Linked DNA regions of Homo sapiens: all the other regions are linked to region 2. Evidence: promoter capture Hi-C in 16 types of primary human blood cells and fetal thymus (Javierre and others, 2016). All regions are on one chromosome and are shown on one strand. The core of a region is centred on a gene start or on the middle of the fragment in contact, and the rest is flanking DNA. Distances in the headings are between cores, read along the strand shown. Region 1 holds the start of C1orf174 (chromosome 1 open reading frame 174). Region 2 holds the start of CDCA8 (cell division cycle associated 8). Region 3 overlaps RCC2 (regulator of chromosome condensation 2). Region 4 holds the start of RCC2 (regulator of chromosome condensation 2).

What was found. The method cuts DNA at HindIII sites, captures the fragments that hold promoters and counts their contacts. A CHiCAGO score of 5 or more calls a contact.
Region 1: the fragment with the promoter of C1orf174 here is called in contact with the fragment with the promoter of CDCA8 in region 2 in 11 of 17 cell types (non-activated CD4 T cells, fetal thymus, naive CD4 T cells and 8 more); the score reaches 31.4 in non-activated CD4 T cells.
Region 3: a contact is called between a fragment that was not itself captured here and the fragment with the promoter of CDCA8 in region 2, in 1 of 17 cell types (non-activated CD4 T cells). The highest score is 6.1, in non-activated CD4 T cells.
Region 4: a contact is called between the fragment with the promoter of RCC2 here and the fragment with the promoter of CDCA8 in region 2, in 2 of 17 cell types (naive CD8 T cells and non-activated CD4 T cells). The highest score is 5.6, in naive CD8 T cells.

What each region holds. Positions count from the first base shown.
Region 1 is chr1:3,897,531-3,901,799 of GRCh38, forward strand. C1orf174 (chromosome 1 open reading frame 174) reads right to left here and starts at 2,742. Exons shown (of 4, transcript NM_207356.3): 1 at 2,642-2,742. The coding sequence starts at 2,656. It overlaps LINC01134 (long intergenic non-protein coding RNA 1134), which reads left to right and starts at 2,874. Exons shown (of 4, transcript NR_024455.1): 1 at 2,874-3,101. RefSeq lists enhancers at 1,834-2,404, 2,405-2,973, 2,974-3,543, 3,183-3,442 and silencers at 2,493-2,562, 3,643-3,822. The HindIII fragment of the contact is 4,148 bases long and covers 1,442-4,269 here.
Region 2 is chr1:37,690,410-37,694,392 of GRCh38, forward strand. CDCA8 (cell division cycle associated 8) reads left to right here and starts at 2,107. Exons shown (of 10, transcript NM_001256875.2): 1 at 2,107-2,375; 2 at 2,496-2,624. The coding sequence starts at 2,282. AIRIM (AFG2 interacting ribosome maturation factor) reads right to left here and starts at 120. Exons shown (of 5, transcript NM_001350770.2): 1 at 1-120. RefSeq lists enhancers at 848-1,358, 1,359-1,868, 1,641-1,830, 1,869-2,379, 2,380-2,888 and 1 more and silencers at 1,161-1,220, 1,241-1,410. The HindIII fragment of the contact is 4,527 bases long and covers 251-3,983 here.
Region 3 is chr1:17,421,182-17,425,329 of GRCh38, forward strand. It overlaps RCC2 (regulator of chromosome condensation 2), which reads right to left. Exons shown (of 13, transcript NM_018715.4): 5 at 1,524-1,655; 6 at 1,022-1,110. Among named protein-coding and RNA genes, the nearest start is that of RCC2, 16 kb to the right of the region's middle. RefSeq lists an enhancer at 870-1,624. The HindIII fragment of the contact is 4,272 bases long and covers 1-4,078 here.
Region 4 is chr1:17,437,752-17,441,470 of GRCh38, forward strand. RCC2 (regulator of chromosome condensation 2) reads right to left here and starts at 1,926. Exons shown (of 13, transcript NM_018715.4): 1 at 1,794-1,926; 2 at 479-771. The coding sequence starts at 763. It overlaps LOC124903862 (a long non-coding RNA gene), which reads right to left. Exons shown (of 2, transcript XR_007065508.1): 1 at 3,707-3,719; 2 at 2,385-3,302. RefSeq lists silencers at 607-706, 2,026-2,165. The HindIII fragment of the contact is 15,202 bases long and covers 1-2,710 here.

The DNA.
Region 1 (4,269 bases), core at 1,492-3,991, about 34 Mb before region 2:
ACATCATTAAGTGCACTAACATACACAAAATAAGAACCACCAGGAATGCAGAGAGAAAGGAGCAGAAAAAATATTTGAAGAAATAATGGCTGAGAACTTCTCAAATTTACAGAAAAACATTAACCTATATATCCAGGAATCTTTTTTTTTTGAGACGGAGTCTCACTCTATCGCCCAGGCTGGAGTACAGTGGCATAATCTTGGCTCACTGCAAGCTCCGCCCCCCAGGTTCATGCCATTCTCCCGCCTCAGCCTCCCAAGTAGCTGGAACTACAGGCGCCCGCCACCACGCCCCGCTAATTTTTTGTATTTTTAGTAGAGATAGGGTTTCACTGTGTTAGCCAGGATGGTATCAATCTCCTGACCTTGTGATCCGCCTGCCTCAGCCTCCCAAAGTGCTGGGATTACAGGCGTGAGCCACCGTGCCTGGCCCCATATCCAGGAATCTTAATGAACAGAACTCCAAATAGGATACATGCAAAGAGATCCACAGACACATCACTGTAAAAATACAAAGATCAAAGGCAAAATCTTGAAAGAGAACAAAACCTTGAAAGCCCCAAGAAGAAAGCCACTTAGAAGGGAACCTCAATAAATGAACTGACTGAAACAATGGAGAATATTCAAACATATTCAACATGCTCAAATAAACTTGTCAACCAAGAATCCTATATCCAGCAAAGCTATACTTCAAAAATGGGCTGGGCATGGTGGCTCATGCCTGTAATCCCACCACTTTGGGAGGCTGAGGCAGTGATCACCTGAGGTCAGGAGTTTTAGACCAGCCTCGCCAACATGGTGAAAACCTGTCTCCAGTAAAAACACAAAAATTAGCCGGGCGTAGTGGCAGCCTCCTGTAATCCCAGCCATTCCAGAGGCTGAGGTGAGAATCACTTGAACCCGGGAGGCAGAGGTTGCAGTGGGCCGAGATCACACCTCTGCACTCCAGCCTGGGCAACAGAGTGAGACTCTGGTCTCAAAGCAAAAACAACAACAACAACAACAACAACAACAACAACAACAAAACTCACTTTACAAGAAACACTAAAAGAAGTTCATCAGGCTGAAAGCAAGTGACCCCAGACAGTAATTCAAAACCACACACACACAAAAACAGCACCAGTAAAGGTAATTATGTTCTTATATAGTTTAAATGCCTATTCCTCTACCTCCTTCTCTTAATTTAAAAAGCAATTGTATACAGTAATATGTGTATAATATATACAGACATGTACTATATTTGCCAATAACAAAACAAAGTGGGTGAAAGCAAACCCCTGCTGGCTAAGGAAATGACCACAGACAGAAAGTAATAATGATAACACAGTACTGTTGAGTTTGTAACATTATCAGATGTAATACATATAACAAAATACCACAAAAATAACCATATAAGAGTAACATTTCTGTATCACTTGGAATTAACCTAGTACAAATCTGAAGCTTAAGATGTATATGGAGAATATGAAGATTAAGCTGTATACGGTAAAACATAAAGCACTGGAAAAAACCCAAAAAAGTTGTGGAAAAAAAATCATTAAATTAAAATGCTACATTAGGAAATATTCACTTTAATCCACTTAAAGAAGGAACAGGGGAAGAAAAAGACAGACTTGTATAAAGAAAAGAAAAAGTAAAATGGCAAATGTAAACCTAACTACAGTGTATCAATAATATTAAATGTGCATGGGCTAAACAATTCAATCAAAAGGCAGAAACTACCAGACTGCATTTTAAAAAAGATCCAAGTATATGTGCCTACAGGAGACAAGTTTTGGTTCAAAGATAAAAATAGTAAAAGGAGTTGGAATTCACAAGTGGCCACTCCATTTGAACAAACCAGGAGAGCCTCCATGCAGCTCAGAGCCTCCCAAGTGGACCGGGACCCGCGCCGGGTCCACTGTGAAAAGGGTCCTTCGCCTTAACTGTTACACCCACGCAATGAGCACTTGCCCCTTGCCAGACACTGGCACCCCCCTTCAATCCTCACCACCCTCTTGGTGGATCCCTCATCACCCCACTTTTAGCACATTCAGTAGATGGGGCCAAGCTGAGGTCACTTGCTGTGTGACGTCCATTGGAGTGGCAGCAGTTGAGGGGCACAAACTCAGCTCTGCAGCATCTAGCACTACCAGGAGTTGAAACCAGTTCTGGAGAGGGTGCCCCACCTTCCTAGGAAAGTGGCCCGAAACCTCCCTTCAAGGGGGCGTGACCTGGGAGCCCCCTGTTGCCCAGGACGTGAACTGTGAGCTCCACTTCTCCCGAGGGCGTGGACCGGAGCCCCCCTTCTCCCGCGGGCATGGCCTGGGAGCTCCCCTTCTCTCGGGGGTGTGGCCCAGAGGCCCCATTCTGCGGGGGTGGGTAACCTGGGAGCCCCCTTCTCCCGGGGACGTGACCTGTGAGCTCCACTTCTTCCGAGGGCGTGGCCCGGAGCCCCCTTTTCACAGGGGCGTGACCTGGCAGCCCTCCTTCTCCCGGGAGCGTGGCCTGGAGCCCCCCAACTACTGCCGGGGGCGAGGCCCAAGCGGAGGCCGCTCCTAGGCCACAGGCACCCCGTGACCCCGCCCCGGTTCTCCAGACAGCAGGTGACCCAGAGTCCCCGCCCTGCCCGGCGCAGCTGCTGCCGGGACCCAGCCCTCACCTTCCGGCTCCTCATGAGTGTGAGCACCGCAGCCAAGCACCGCGCGCCCCGGCCAACGCGTCCCGGCGGAGCGGCGACCCGGAGTCTGCAGAGCGCGCCGCGGCGGCGTCCGACGTCAGCACAGCCAATCACAGTGCAGCACCCTCGTCATGTGATTCCCCCCCCCCCCCCCCCCGTGTTGGCTCTTTCGTAAGCGGCGGGCGAAGGTCACAGGCCTTGGGCCAGTGGTGGGACACTGGAGCAGGAAGTCGGCCTGTGGCCGGCCATGTTCATGAGGGCGCGTCCCTTGGCACCCCTGTAGCCGCTATGTTTCCCACGCCCGTGGCAGGCCTGAGAGATTATGTTTGCGGGGGGTGCTTTTTTTGTAGCTTCTGTGTTCGCCATATTTGAAAGGGGCAGACGGCCATGTTCGTGAACGGCGCTTCCCTTGGTGCACCTGTGGCCGCCATGTTTGAGCGAGGTGGGCAACTATGTTCTTGAGGGGGGAGCAACCATGTTCTTGAGGGGCTCTTCCCTTGAAGCCTCTTTGGCCACCATGTTTGAGAGGGGCAGACGGCCATGTTTGTAAGGGGCGCTTCTCTTGGTGCGCCTGTGGCCGCTATGTTTGAGAGGGGCAGGCAACCATGTTCGTGAGGGGCGCTTCCCTTGAAGCCTCTTTGGCGCCATGTATGAGAGGGGCGGACGGCCATGTTTGTGAGGGGCTCTTCCTTTGGTGCGCCTGTGGCCGCCATGTTTGAGAGGGGCGGGCGGGACGTCCGTGAGGGGCCCCTCCCCTTGCATCCCCTGGCTAACAGCCTGCAGGAGGGCGGGAAGTGCTTTCTCCAGTGCCGCAGAGCGCTGGTTTCTGAGTGCCGGTTAGCGGCCTTGAGCAGCGCGAGGGACTCCCAGGCCTGCCCGTGCTGCGGTCCCGCTGGGGAGCTTTGCGCGCTTGTCGCAGGCTGTGCTGCCCCGCGACATGCCGCTTTGGGTTGGGGTGGCCCGCCCGGGAAGTGGCCTCAGCTGTCCCCCACGTTGCGGGCGGGAGGGGGCCTTAGTGGAGGCCGTCGGTGGGCCCAGGAGGCCAGGGTCCGGCGTCGGGCTGGGGGCCGGTTTTCGTCCCCCGTTACGTGCAAGGCGGGAAATGACCCCTCCGCCGTCCCGTTACTCTCCGGGGCCAACGTGGACTCGCAGGGGCCACGCCTTTTCCAATGGCCACGCCCCTAGCAGGCCTGGGTGGACCCGCAGCGGCCACGCCTCCTCCAATGGCCGCGCCCTATCAGGTCTGGATGGACACACGGCGGCCACGCCTCCTCCAGCAAACACGCCCCTAGCAGGCCTGGGCTGCTGTGATGCGTCCTCTTTGGCCGCCGCTGAGGGAGGTGTTTGTAAAGCTGAGGACCACTGTTCTGTTGTGGGTTTTTTTGTTTGTTTGTTTGTTTTTTGAGACGGAGTCTCGCTCTGTCACCCAGGCTGGAGTGCAGTGGCGCGATCTCAGCTCACTGCAACCTCCGCCTCATGGGCTCAAGCCATTCTCCTGCCTCAGCCTCCTGAGTAGCTGGGATTACAGGCAGGCGCCACCACACCTGGCTAATTTTTGTATTTTTAGTAGAGATGGGGTTTCATCATGTTGGTCAGGCTGGTCTCGAACT
Region 2 (3,983 bases), core at 857-3,356:
TCCCCTGCCCGAGGCTGCCGGTCGCCTTCCTGAAAAAGCGGAAAAACTTAAAAGTCCAGACAGCCAAAGCGTGAGAACCCTCCAGGGACTGCACCACGCGCCCACAGTCTCTCTGCGCATGCTCACACGCGACCTCCCCACAAAGCTACTCCGCGGGCCTGCCTGGCTACTGAGTCGCGAAAATATATCGTAGTGCCGCAATGACTTCTGGGTACTGTAGTCCAACATGTGGACTGGCCACTCGGCTTGAAGCTTCCTTGGGATTGGATGTTGGGACCGTCCAAACACGGCGACTTCTCATTTGTCAGCCTGCGGCAGTTTAAATTGGGTGGCGGTGGTGGCATGTCCTGTTAGCTGTGGAGTCTTTTCCTCTTATCTTGCGCCTCCGGTTGTGCCTTAATGACACTTTTGACATTGTGTATCACAACCAACTGGCAAAAACTAGTAAATCACGGGCTCCTGACGTGGCAGCTCTGGCTAAAATGCAGGTGGACGTCCTAGGTGCCCAGGGAGTTCGGGCTCACTGGGGAGTAGGGTGAAGGAAACCCTGAAACCGAGAGGCTGGAAGCCCGACTTGCGCAGCATAAAAACACCTGCAGGGGGAAAGCCTACATGAGGTACGGGTTGTCATCCCGTCTCATCTTGGCCATCTGACTGATGGAGATCCTCAGGCACCCAGCAGACTGGGGTGTCACCCCCACTACCCACTGCCCAGGGCTGACCTCGGGCGGAAGAGCGACATTCAAATATTTGTTGCATATGGAGCAACAGACCAGGGTGGAAGAGAGAGAAAGGACTTTCCAGGAAGGTCCAGGCTTGCCAGGACTTCTATGCTTGGACTGCTCTGTCCCCAAGCTCGCTGGTGCCCATCAGGAGCCTGCTTGGCACCTTTGCTTATTTCTTCGATTGTTCCTCAACTCAGAGGGGGAGAGGCAAGATTATCACTCCCATAGCCTATAACATGCACGCTTAAACACAACCCCTCTGACATGGCTTCAGACCGCATCCACAGGTGAAAAGCACCAAATCCAAACAATCAGGCCACAAACCCGTCAAGAGCTCGCCGGTCTGGCCGTCCAGTCGCCGCCCGCCTTGAGACTCAGCCTGAGCTACAGCTTCGAAACTAGCCTCTAGCCTTCTGGGTCTCAGCACAACTCTTGAGCAATCCAACCCTGTGGCCGTGGGCAGATACCAAGATGCACAGTTAGCACCTCCGACAGGACCGCGGCTCGGCGGGGCTCGCCGTCTACACGCCCATTCCCAGGCCCACGGCCACGACACCCAGAGCTGCCTCCTGCCCTGGGCTCCCTGGAGCCTGGTGGCCGCGGCTCATGCTGCAGTCACCGTGTGGCCAGCTGCCAAGCGCCACTACTTGCACCTGAAGTCGCAGCCCCGCGCTGCGCACCCAGTCGAGGCGCCAACACGCGAACTGGGCGGGAGTGGCCGGCCCGCGGGGGAGCGAGGAACGACAGGGTTCCCCCCACTCGCTGCCCAGACTGGCCGCGGGATAGCGCGCCCCCCCCAAAGCCTGCACCCCTGCCCTGCTCCTCTATCATTCCGTCCCCCTTGCTCTGTCAAACCCTGCCGGGGCTGCTCTGTCTCTGCCGACCCGCCACTTGCCCGAAGTTCGGCCTGAGGAGCTTGGGGCCCTGAGGAGCGCCGACGTAGGCAGCCAGCCAGTCAATCAGTCAGAGGGTCACGGCGGCCCCTCGGCTACTCAGTGGCAGCCAGGCCAGAAAGAAGCAGCCGCCAACCCTGGAGCAGAATCCTACAGCCGACCTGACCTAGTAGGCCCCCAGCCCTCCAGAGCTTGGGGTATTGCAGAGCCGCCACAAGGCCTGCCGGGAGTAGTAGTTTGTATAGTTCGCAGCCGGCCAGGGCGGAGCCGGGTGGGTTGGTGGGGAGGGCGGGGAAACAAGCCTGGACCACAACTCCCAGGAGTACCCGCGACGGCGGCGGCCTCGCTGTCGCACTCAGGCTATAGGGGGCGCATTGGGCGGAAGACCCTGGGCCGGCAGGAACTTGCTTGTGATTGGATGTTGTGGGACGGCGGCTTCTCATTCGTCAGCCTGTGACTGTGGAGTTTGAATTGGGTGGCGGTTGACTGTAGAGCCGCTCTCTCTCACTGGCACAGCGAGGTTTTGCTCAGCCCTTGTCTCGGGACCGCAGGTACGTGCCTGGCGACTTCTTCGGGTGGTCCCCGTCCGCCCTCCTCGTCCCTACCCAGTTTCTTGCTTCCCTGCCCCATCTCCGCCGCTCCCCGCAGCCTCCGCCGAGCGCCATGGCTCCTAGGAAGGGCAGTAGTCGGGTGGCCAAGACCAACTCCTTACGGAGGCGGAAGCTCGCCTCCTTTCTGAAAGACTTCGACCGTGAAGGTAAGGGGCCAGGCCGTCGCGGCCTCCTGGGGCGGTCGCGGGATGCTGGCGGGTGGGGACACGAGCTGCACAGATTCGCCCGCCCGTGACCCGTGTCCTGTCGGCTCTGCCCTCCCGCAGTGGAAATACGAATCAAGCAAATTGAGTCAGACAGGCAGAACCTCCTCAAGGAGGTGGATAACCTCTACAACATCGAGATCCTGCGGCTCCCCAAGGCTCTGCGCGAGATGAACTGGCTTGACTACTTCGGTAAGAGCTGGAGAGCTTCCCTGGGCGGAGGCCAGGAGCCCCTTGGGGTTAGGTGACACCCTTCAGAAAGGGCTCGCTCAGATGTCACCTTTTAATGAGATCTGACATGACCACTTATGGAAAATTGCAGACCCTTTCACTCTCTGTCTCACTTCCCTACTTCATTTTTCTCTATGAAAAATGGGGGGGTGGTTGGGGGGCGGCGGGCGGGGCGGTCTCTGTCGGACAACTCAGCTCTGCTGTTTACAGGTCCAAAACAGCTGTAGTGAATGGGCATGGATGGGCTGTATTCCAATAAAATTTTAGTTATGGATACACTGAAATGTGAATTTCACATAATTTTCACACATCAGGAAATTTATTTAATTTTTTTTAAACAGAGTCTCACTCTGTCACCCAGGCTGGAGTGCAGTGCAGTGCAGTGGTGCGATCCCTGCTCACTGCAACCTCCACCTTCTGGGTTCAAGTGATTCTCCTGCCTCAGCCTCTGGAGTGGCTGGGATTACGGTCGCCTGCCACCATGCCCCGCTGATTTTTGTATTTTCAGTAGAGACGGGGTTTCACCATGTTGGCCAGGCTGGTCTCGAACTCCTGACCTCAAGTGATCCACCTACATAGGCCTCCCAAAGTGCTGGGATTACAGGAGTCAGCCACTGCGCCCGGCCAGAAAATAGTATTTTTAAAAATATATGTATATTTTACCCATTTAAAAATGAATGAATAAATGACATGGTTAGTTAACCAGAGCTCAGATAGAAGAATAACCCGAAGCAGCTCCTTCTGCAGCTTATGGAAATTGCTAACCTAAAAATGGGCGCATCAGGCTGGGCGTGGTGGCTCACGCCTGTAATCCCAGCACTTTGGGAGGCTGAGGCGGGCAGATGACCTGAGGTCAGGAGTTCGAGACCAGCCTGACCAACATGGAGAAACCCTGTCTCTACTAAAAATACAAAAAAGTTAGCCGGGCGTGGTGGCGCATACCTCTAATCCCAGCTACTCTGGAGGCTGAGGCAGGACAATCGCTTGAACCTGGGAGGCAGAGGTTGCGGTGAGCTGAGAGCACGCCATTGCACTCCAGCCTGGGCAACAAGAGTGAAACTCCGTCTCAAAAAAAAAGACACATCAGTTTTCCTGGCCAGAGAAAAATCCCAGCCTGTTTCTGCACTCCCTTATTAAATGTCCGGAGAAATGCAGGAGGCTGTACTTTTCTGCTGGGTTGCCCTTTTCTGTTTTCCTTATTATTAACTATCCAGCATGTAGTCTCCTTCCTGGATAGAAATGCATGGTCTGCTCACATATTAGACATTGAATGATCCTTTTGACTTGCCCTTTTATTTATTAAGCCATTCATTTGCTTAT
Region 3 (4,148 bases), core at 693-3,192, about 20 Mb before region 2:
CCTCCAACTCAAGTTTCTTAGAAAAAAAAAGACTGCCTATCTCCTGGGCGCGGTGGCTCACACCCAGCACTTTGGGAGGCCGAGGCAGGCAGATCAGGAAGTCAAGAGATGGAGACCATCCTGGCCAACATGGTGAAACCCCATCTCTACTAAAAATACAAAAATTAGCCAGGCGTGGTGGAGCATGCCTGTAGTCCCAGCTACTCGGGAGGCTGAGGCAGGAGAATCGCTTGAATCCGGGAGGCAGAGGTTGCAGTGAGCTGAGATCGCGCCACTGCACTCTAGCCTGGCAACAGAGCGAGACTCTGTCTCCCCTCCAAAAAAAAAAGACTGCCTATCTCGTATTTGTATTCTAAGCATCTGGCTGGTGACTTTATACAAGGTCAAAACAAAGTATTTGGGGGAAGTACAATTACATCCATATAACATCACTCACTTTCTTTGGAACAGAACAGGCTTACGACAAGGCATTTCTAACAGATTTCTCCATTTGGAAACAAAATGTTTTCAGGATGGTTTTCAACCCGACCACAAACTAAGCCTGTTTTAAAAACTATAGCAAGGCTGTGTGCAGTGGCTCACACCTGTAATCCCAGTACTTTGGGAGGCCGAGGTGGGTGGATCACCTGAGGTCAGGAGTTCCAGACCAGCCTGACCAACATGGAGAAACCCCGTCTCTACTAAAAATACAAAATTAGCCAGGTGTGGTGGCACATGCCTGTAATCCCAGCTACTCCAGAGGCTGAGGCCGGGGAATCACTTGAACCCGGGAGGCGGAGGTTGCAGTGAGCCGAGATTGCGCCATTGCACTCCAGCCTGGGCAAAAAGAGTGAAACTCCGTTCTCAAAAAAAAACAAAAAACAAAAAAACAAACAAAAAAACTCTACAGCATGTAACTAAACATCCAGACCCTGTTTTTACAAGGGGTAAATTAACTCAAACGGAGACCCCACCTTAGAAAATCAAACACAAAAGTAAAGAGAAACAAAAAGCCATGGAGCCGGAGCTGAGGAGGGGTCACCTGCGCGGGGCTGGGAACAGCGTCTGTCTGGTTGCCAAGGCCCAGCTGCCCCATCTTGTTTTCCCCAAACGCAAACACGGAGCCCGTTTCTGGAAGAAAGGAAAAATATCACAAAAGGGAAGATAATGGTGAATGTTTTGAACTAGATTTAGAATCAAAGGCATCAAAATAATAAAAACAGCTCATTTGCCAGGCAGAAGGCAAGTGAGACTGCCCAAAAGCTGGCAGTGCAGACGCTTCACAGCAAAGCCATTTCACATCAGAAACTGGGTGTGCAGAGAAACAGAGGGCAGCGTCTCCTACTCCCAGATGGGCCTCCTATGGCCACTGGGGAGGCTCCCAATGCCCTCAAGAAGCCACTCCATGCCAAGGTTCTCAGGGCCTCTTTCTGATCCTGACCAAGAGTCACAAGGGGAACTCCACCACCCCACGCCCCATCCCCAAGGCAGACCACCTGGCCTCTTGCCAAACTGAGAGGAGACACCAGCAGCCACCTCCTTACCCGTCAAGGCCAAGGTGTGGTTCCGCCCACATGCTGCAGACACAATCACTTCGTGGCTAAGACCCTCGATGAGTCTAGGGGCTTCTACTCTCTTGGTGTCACCATGTCCCAGCTGCCCCTTCTCATTTCGACCTGCAGATCACATGAGAGAAAGTAGAAAAGAGAGAGGGTGGTCCAGGCGGCACCACCAGGAGAAGGCGAGTACAAACACACTCTCAAATGATGCCCATCTGTCTCTGGAAGGTACCCTCCAAATTCCCAACAGCCAAGATCCAGAGCAAAGAACGCCCCGGCCCTCTGCCCGCTGGAATGGCGCCTGCTGCAGCTCCCCGGACCTCCTTCCCTGGGGCAGCAGCGGGACCACCCGTGCACACCTCCCACGTCTCTGCTACAAAGGGAAATGAGAGGCTCAGTGTGGTAGGGACACCATGCACAGGCGGGCATGCTCGCAGAAACACGCCGTTCCCACTTAGAGTGCCTGCAAGACAACCACCCCGTCCCTACCCTCTGAGATGTATTTTAAGACAGCACCCCATTTTGACACCTGGCTCACCAGAGTTTAATCACTTTGGTGCTCTGGGCATCCACTGAGGACCATTTGGTGTCTGCCCAATATTTCTCTTCCTTTTTCTACCCTGTAAATGGTGCTCACATAACAGTGCCAATCCCACCCCTAGGGATCGCCCCTCAAGGACTCTCAGCCACAGGAACCCTGGTGACAAAGCACAGATCCACCCTCAACACAACACGCCCAGCCCCACCTCCAGGACTGCTGCAGGTGCGACCAAGGCCCTGTATCTGTGAATTCCAGCGGAAGGCAGGCCTGAGGGCCAACCCCTACCCCCAAGTCCTCTGCAGAACCAAATTCAACTCCAAACAGACGTGGAAGTTGGGTGGGCCAAAAGGAGGGCTGGGAGCCCCTACACCGCATCTAGGTTTCAACACAAACTACCAAGTTCCAAAACAAAAATTCAACCGGCCACTCTCGGATCCCTCCCGATAAGAGAAAAACCACACATGTAACCTGACGTGGGGAAACTGACGGAGATCTTACAGTGGTGAGAAGTCAGGGCAATTCTAGGGGGTTTTGCAACCTTCTCCAGCAATGAACTTTTCACCCTTAGGTTGTGATAAAGGCAGACAGCAGAGCCATTAAGATGAGTTCCAGCTGTCCTGGAGAAGGCTTGCAGGAGCAGCCTCTGACTACAGAAGGAATTGCGACGAAGGGAAACCAGCCTCTGACTCGCTCTAATTAAAGAACGGCGGGCTGAAGGGCCAGCACTGGCACTCGAGCAGGAGAGGCAGATACACCAGCTTCCAATGGGAGCTGCCCAAGTTCATGTGAAAGGCATGTGAATACAGAGCAACAAGTGCAAGTCTCAGTGGACTGAGATGCGGCAGGACAGGGTGAGCGGGCCACAGATGGAGACCCCACATGAGCAATGCGTCAGCCACCCTCCCGTGGTACTCTACTCACACCAGACGCCGCCCCCTGCCTTCTAGAGTGGCGAGCAGTGGGCCTGTGACACCTTCCAACCCTGTCCTCACCAACTGCACTGTCTGCTCGGGGATCACACGTCTTGATGGCGGGACATACATTGTCCCTGCCCACAGGGTCAGAACTGAGGGCGCTTTCAGAGCCACCACGCAAGTGAAGCTCAGCGAGAGATCAGAACTGAGGTATTTTAAGTTTGGAACACTGACATAAAAGGCTGTGTTCAGTGTTGGAACACAAAGTAGGAGGGGTGCTCTGGGGGAAGGGACACACATCTATGCCAACCGGGAGAAAACAAAAACTGTGGCAATGTCAGCATGTCATCAAGAGACTATAAAGTATAAATTTGGGCCAGACACACTTTAGCTTTTTTCAACAGAATTACAAAATTAGCCATGTGCAGGGAAGACAACAGATGTTAATATATTTGGACTTTGGTACAGCAGCTCATGAAATCACAAAAAACGGTTCAAACAGCCCAAAATAAAAATGCAGTCATATGGACTAAAAGCTAGCCAGAGGACCAGCGACAAAGGGTGGGGACAAACGCCAATATGCCCCGCTGGAGGCAGAGGCCGGGAGTCACCAAAAGGGCTGGGGATAAAATGAGCCTTAGCCCATACCCTATGATTGGAATGATCTGGAAGAGGACACGGGCAGGAATGGGCCGGCCGGCTGCAGAGGACAGTGCCGTGGACAGAGGCTAACAGAAGAACTGGAACCCATCCCGAGTGCCCAGGTGAGGAAAAACAGAAGGGAAAGCCGAACAACTCCAAAAAAGCAAACTGAAGTATCTGGGGAAATATCCTAAGAAGCAGACAACACGGACAGTGAGCTGCCAAGCCTGCAGACCAGACTTGGGCAGACCTCAGACACGAGGGCCATGGCGGCAGGGACGCAGCATCCTATGACATGAGGCGGGAGGTAGAAAAGCCAGTGGCATTTCAAGTGGCAGCAACAGAGGTCTCATGTCATATCGTGCCTCAAAGAGGAAGGAAACTGTCTGCTGGAAGGACAGCCTGCCTAACACACTCACACACCTCAGTATCAGAAAAGATCAAGCTTCGGGCAGAAGATTCAGGAAAATGTTCCTTGTGTAAACACAAGGAATCAAAGAAGTAGGGGCTGCG
Region 4 (3,719 bases), core at 676-3,175, about 20 Mb before region 2:
AACGGCCGCTCCCCGCAGAGCGCCGGCCGCCCCCTCCCCGCGGCGCCCGGGCGCAGCGGCGGCCACGGACGTGTGGGGCCCGCTGGCCGCCCCCTCTTCCAGGCCGGGCGAACTTACCGAGGTCCCCTTTCCCGGGGCGGGGGGGGAGGGGCGCAGAGGGAGCTGTGGGGGCGGGGCCATGACCCCCTCGTGCGGGCTTCGGCCGCCCCTCCCCCGCCGCGGGCCCGGGCGCGCGCCCCAACCGCCAACCGCCCGCGCGGTGCCCGGGGTCGGGTAGGCCGCGGGCCGCGCGCCCCGTACCGAGCCCTTTTGTTGCGCGGAGGCGGAGGCAATGATTCAGCCCGCGGCCTGCGCCGGCCCGGCCGCCGGGAGGGAGCGTGACGCGAGGCGGCCCCCGGCTGGAACGCGCGCCGTGCCGCGTCGCTGAGCCCGCCGGCCCCGGCCCTGCGCCCACCCGTCTACCCTGACCCTCACTCACGACGCGCTCCTTGGTGTGCTCGGGTTCGGTGATGACCACGGCCGCGCCGCCCGCCTTGCCTGCTGTCGCCGGCCGCGCCGCGCGCTTGCCCCCGCCGGGGGCCCCGTCGAGCTCCAGGCCGTCCTCGTCGCCGCTGCTGCCGCCGCCGCTGCTGCTACTGCAGCGCTCGGGCCGCTCGCGCTTCCTGCCCGCCGGGCCGCCGCGTTTCCTGGGCCCGGCGCGGGCAGTGCCGTTGCCCGAGCTCGGCTCCTCCCAGGCCGCCGCCGCCGCCTTCTTCCTGGGCATGGTCGCGGCTGGAGGGAGACACGGGGCAGCGGCGCACAATGGACGGGTTATAAACTGCGCGGGGGGAGGGGAGCGGAGACGAGCCACCCGGCCTCCACTTCCTCCTCTGCCCTCCCCAAAGTGGCGGCCGCAGGGTGGGCGGAGAGGGGGCGAGTTGGGAGAGGAAATCGCGCCCCTCCCTGGCCCCGGCGCGGCTCCTTCGGGGAATCCCGCAGGGCAGCCGGGAGCCCCAGAGGCAATCCCCTGGAGGGAGAATTGAGACCCCCGGCCTATCCGTAAGTTAGGTTTGCCCACAAAGCATCACAGTTGCAACCTCGCCCCCCAAAAGTAAAGGGAAAGTAAAACCAGCCTCCAGTCCCCTAGATTTTCATTAAAGAAGGCTTCGGGACACTTCCAGGATTCCCCCTTGGCACCTGGGTGGTAAGGGAGCCCCTGCTCCCCGGCTACCCCACCTGCTGCTTTTGTCTCCGCAGTCTCCCCCCAAACCCACTCATGGCATTTAATGCAACGCTCTCCCCCACCCCGCATCAGCCCTGGACCCCCGTTCGGCCCCAGCTCAGGGGTGCCGACCTCGGGCTCTAGTTAGCCGAATCCCTACGGCGGACTGCCCCCGGCGACGGGGGAAGAGCCCGAAGAAAGCTGGACCCCAGCCCCAAACACCTGCTCGCACAGACACGAAAAATAAAAACTTTAATGGTGCCCAACTCTCTCCCAGCCCCCTTGCCGGCCGTGCGGCCCGGCCGGTCTCCGATTCGACTGCAAAGTGTCCAGGGCCGCCGCCAGCTCCCCGGCGTCCCTGCGCTCTCCCCTGTCTGCTTTTTTTTTTTTTTTTAATTGATTTTGAACAATGGGATCTCTGTCTGTCTCCGATTAAACCACGTGGATCCGCCTTCCTTCCTCTTTTTATTCCTTCAATCACCCAGCCCCCCTCCCCCAGGTTTTTTTTTAACCTTTTCTCTTTAAAAAAAGGAAAAAAAAAAAAACTTTCCCAGACCCCACAAACTGATCACTGTCGATTTTCAGACCCTACCTGGTTGGAGTGATGAGAAACCGGAGAGAAAAAAGGAAGAGAAGCAACTAAAAGACGGATCGGAGGGCTTTTTTTTTTCCGGCCCAGACGAGGGCTCCAGCCCACTCACCAGATACACTTAAAATGTAAATACGAGCTTCCAGAACAAATGCTACAACACAAAACAGAAACACATGTGCGGCCGCGCGGCAAGCGAGCGCGCGGCGGGGCGGGAGGCGCGGGGCGCGGGGCGCGCGCGCCCCCTGCCGGCCGGCGGACCCGTTGCCGGCGCCCCCGCCCCGCCCGGCCTGGCCCTGCCCTGCCCACCCGAGCCTGCGCCGCGCGCCGCGCGCCTCGCCGCCCGCCTCGGCTCCGCTGCTCCTGCGCCTTTCGCGGGCCCGCGAGCGCGCTTTGGGCCTTCCACGCAGTGCGGCCTGCGCGTCAGGGACTTCTTTGCGGCTTAGGAGGATGTTGGATTGTTTTTCCTGGGCACGTCTAGACAGGTCACATGAGGACACTCGCTGGAAAATAGTTACTTCGCTCACGCAGCAGCCAACAAGGGACGTGCCCTAATTGAGTGATTGGAATGAAAGATGAATACAATTTGAATAATTTTTTCCTGTGCAGAGAGAAGCTGAGTTTTATTTGCCTGTGGATGTGTCCTCAGTATGTAACAAGGTGCTGTGACACGGAAGAATCACATAAAGGTTTGCTGTATTAGTGAATTAATTCATAATTAATTTGAGGGCCGTGGAGGCACTGGAAGCTGGCTTTGAGGGGAACTTTTTCATTTTTTGCCAAATATTTACTGAGCCCCCGGTACATGCAAGACCCACAGTGCCCGGGGCTGCAGAGCCAGTGAACAAGGTTTCCACCCCAGTGGAACGCACAGCCTAACGGAAAGACAGATCAGTAAACAAGTAATTACAACAGTGGTAAGCTTTACAAAGTGATGCCTGTGTAGGAACATTATGGCGAGGGGATTTATCCTAGTCCAGGGCCAGGGAAGGCATTCAGGTGGAAAGTTATGCTGAACAACTTAAAGGATGAATAAGACCCGATGAAAGGGGGCAGGAAAAGTATTCCAGGCCAGGTGGAGTGAACGGGACGCTCCACATTTCGAGATCTTGAGAGACACCTCCTGGGAGGGAAGCTGTCTGGTGGGGCTGGGGTGAGAAGAGCCAAGAGGCTGGGTTCTGAGGAGGTAGGCAGGGGTGCGAGGGCCTGCATAGACCCTAGTGAACCGCAGTGAGGCTTGATCTCGTTCGCGTGTCCTGGGACGGGTGAAAAAAGCCTTGCTTGCTTCCTACCGGTCTCCACCCTCCACCTCTCCACCCCACTTCCATTACGATCTCACCGTCACTTGCTCTCCTCTCAAAGCTTTTCTCCTGCTTCTTTTTTCCTGAGGCGTACCGCACAAGGAAGTTCCTTCTTCAGGCAACTTCTTGAAAACGCATAAAGTTCTAGGATTTTTGTGATTCATTCATTCATTGTTAGTGCAAGAAACAGGACTGGGAAGCATCAAGTGTCCTGTAAAGGAAGACAGAGAAACCAAGAGGCCCAAATCTAAGGTATTTGATCAAAGTCAAAAGTCTGTGTGTCAAGAGAGCTGAGAGTGCTTATGTAAAAGAACTTTGGAAATGAGAAATCAACTGGTACGTTTCAGAGATTTTCAGAAAAGTCAAGATGGAATAGAAGCACCCTTTGAAAGCCTATTCTTAATAGACCTGCATTTAAAAAGATTTTTTAGAGGTTAAACTTTGACGCTTTGATATAAAGCATAAGTAGAACCAACCAGAAAAGAATTTCGCCTAAATATGCCATCAAGTCCCCTTCAGGAAATGGCATGCTGATGCTTGTCAGCCGAGGCGGGTGGCTGGGTGTTTATCCTCTAAACACCCTGTGTGGCCAATTAGGAACACCACTGACAGTACCTTTAGATTTCAG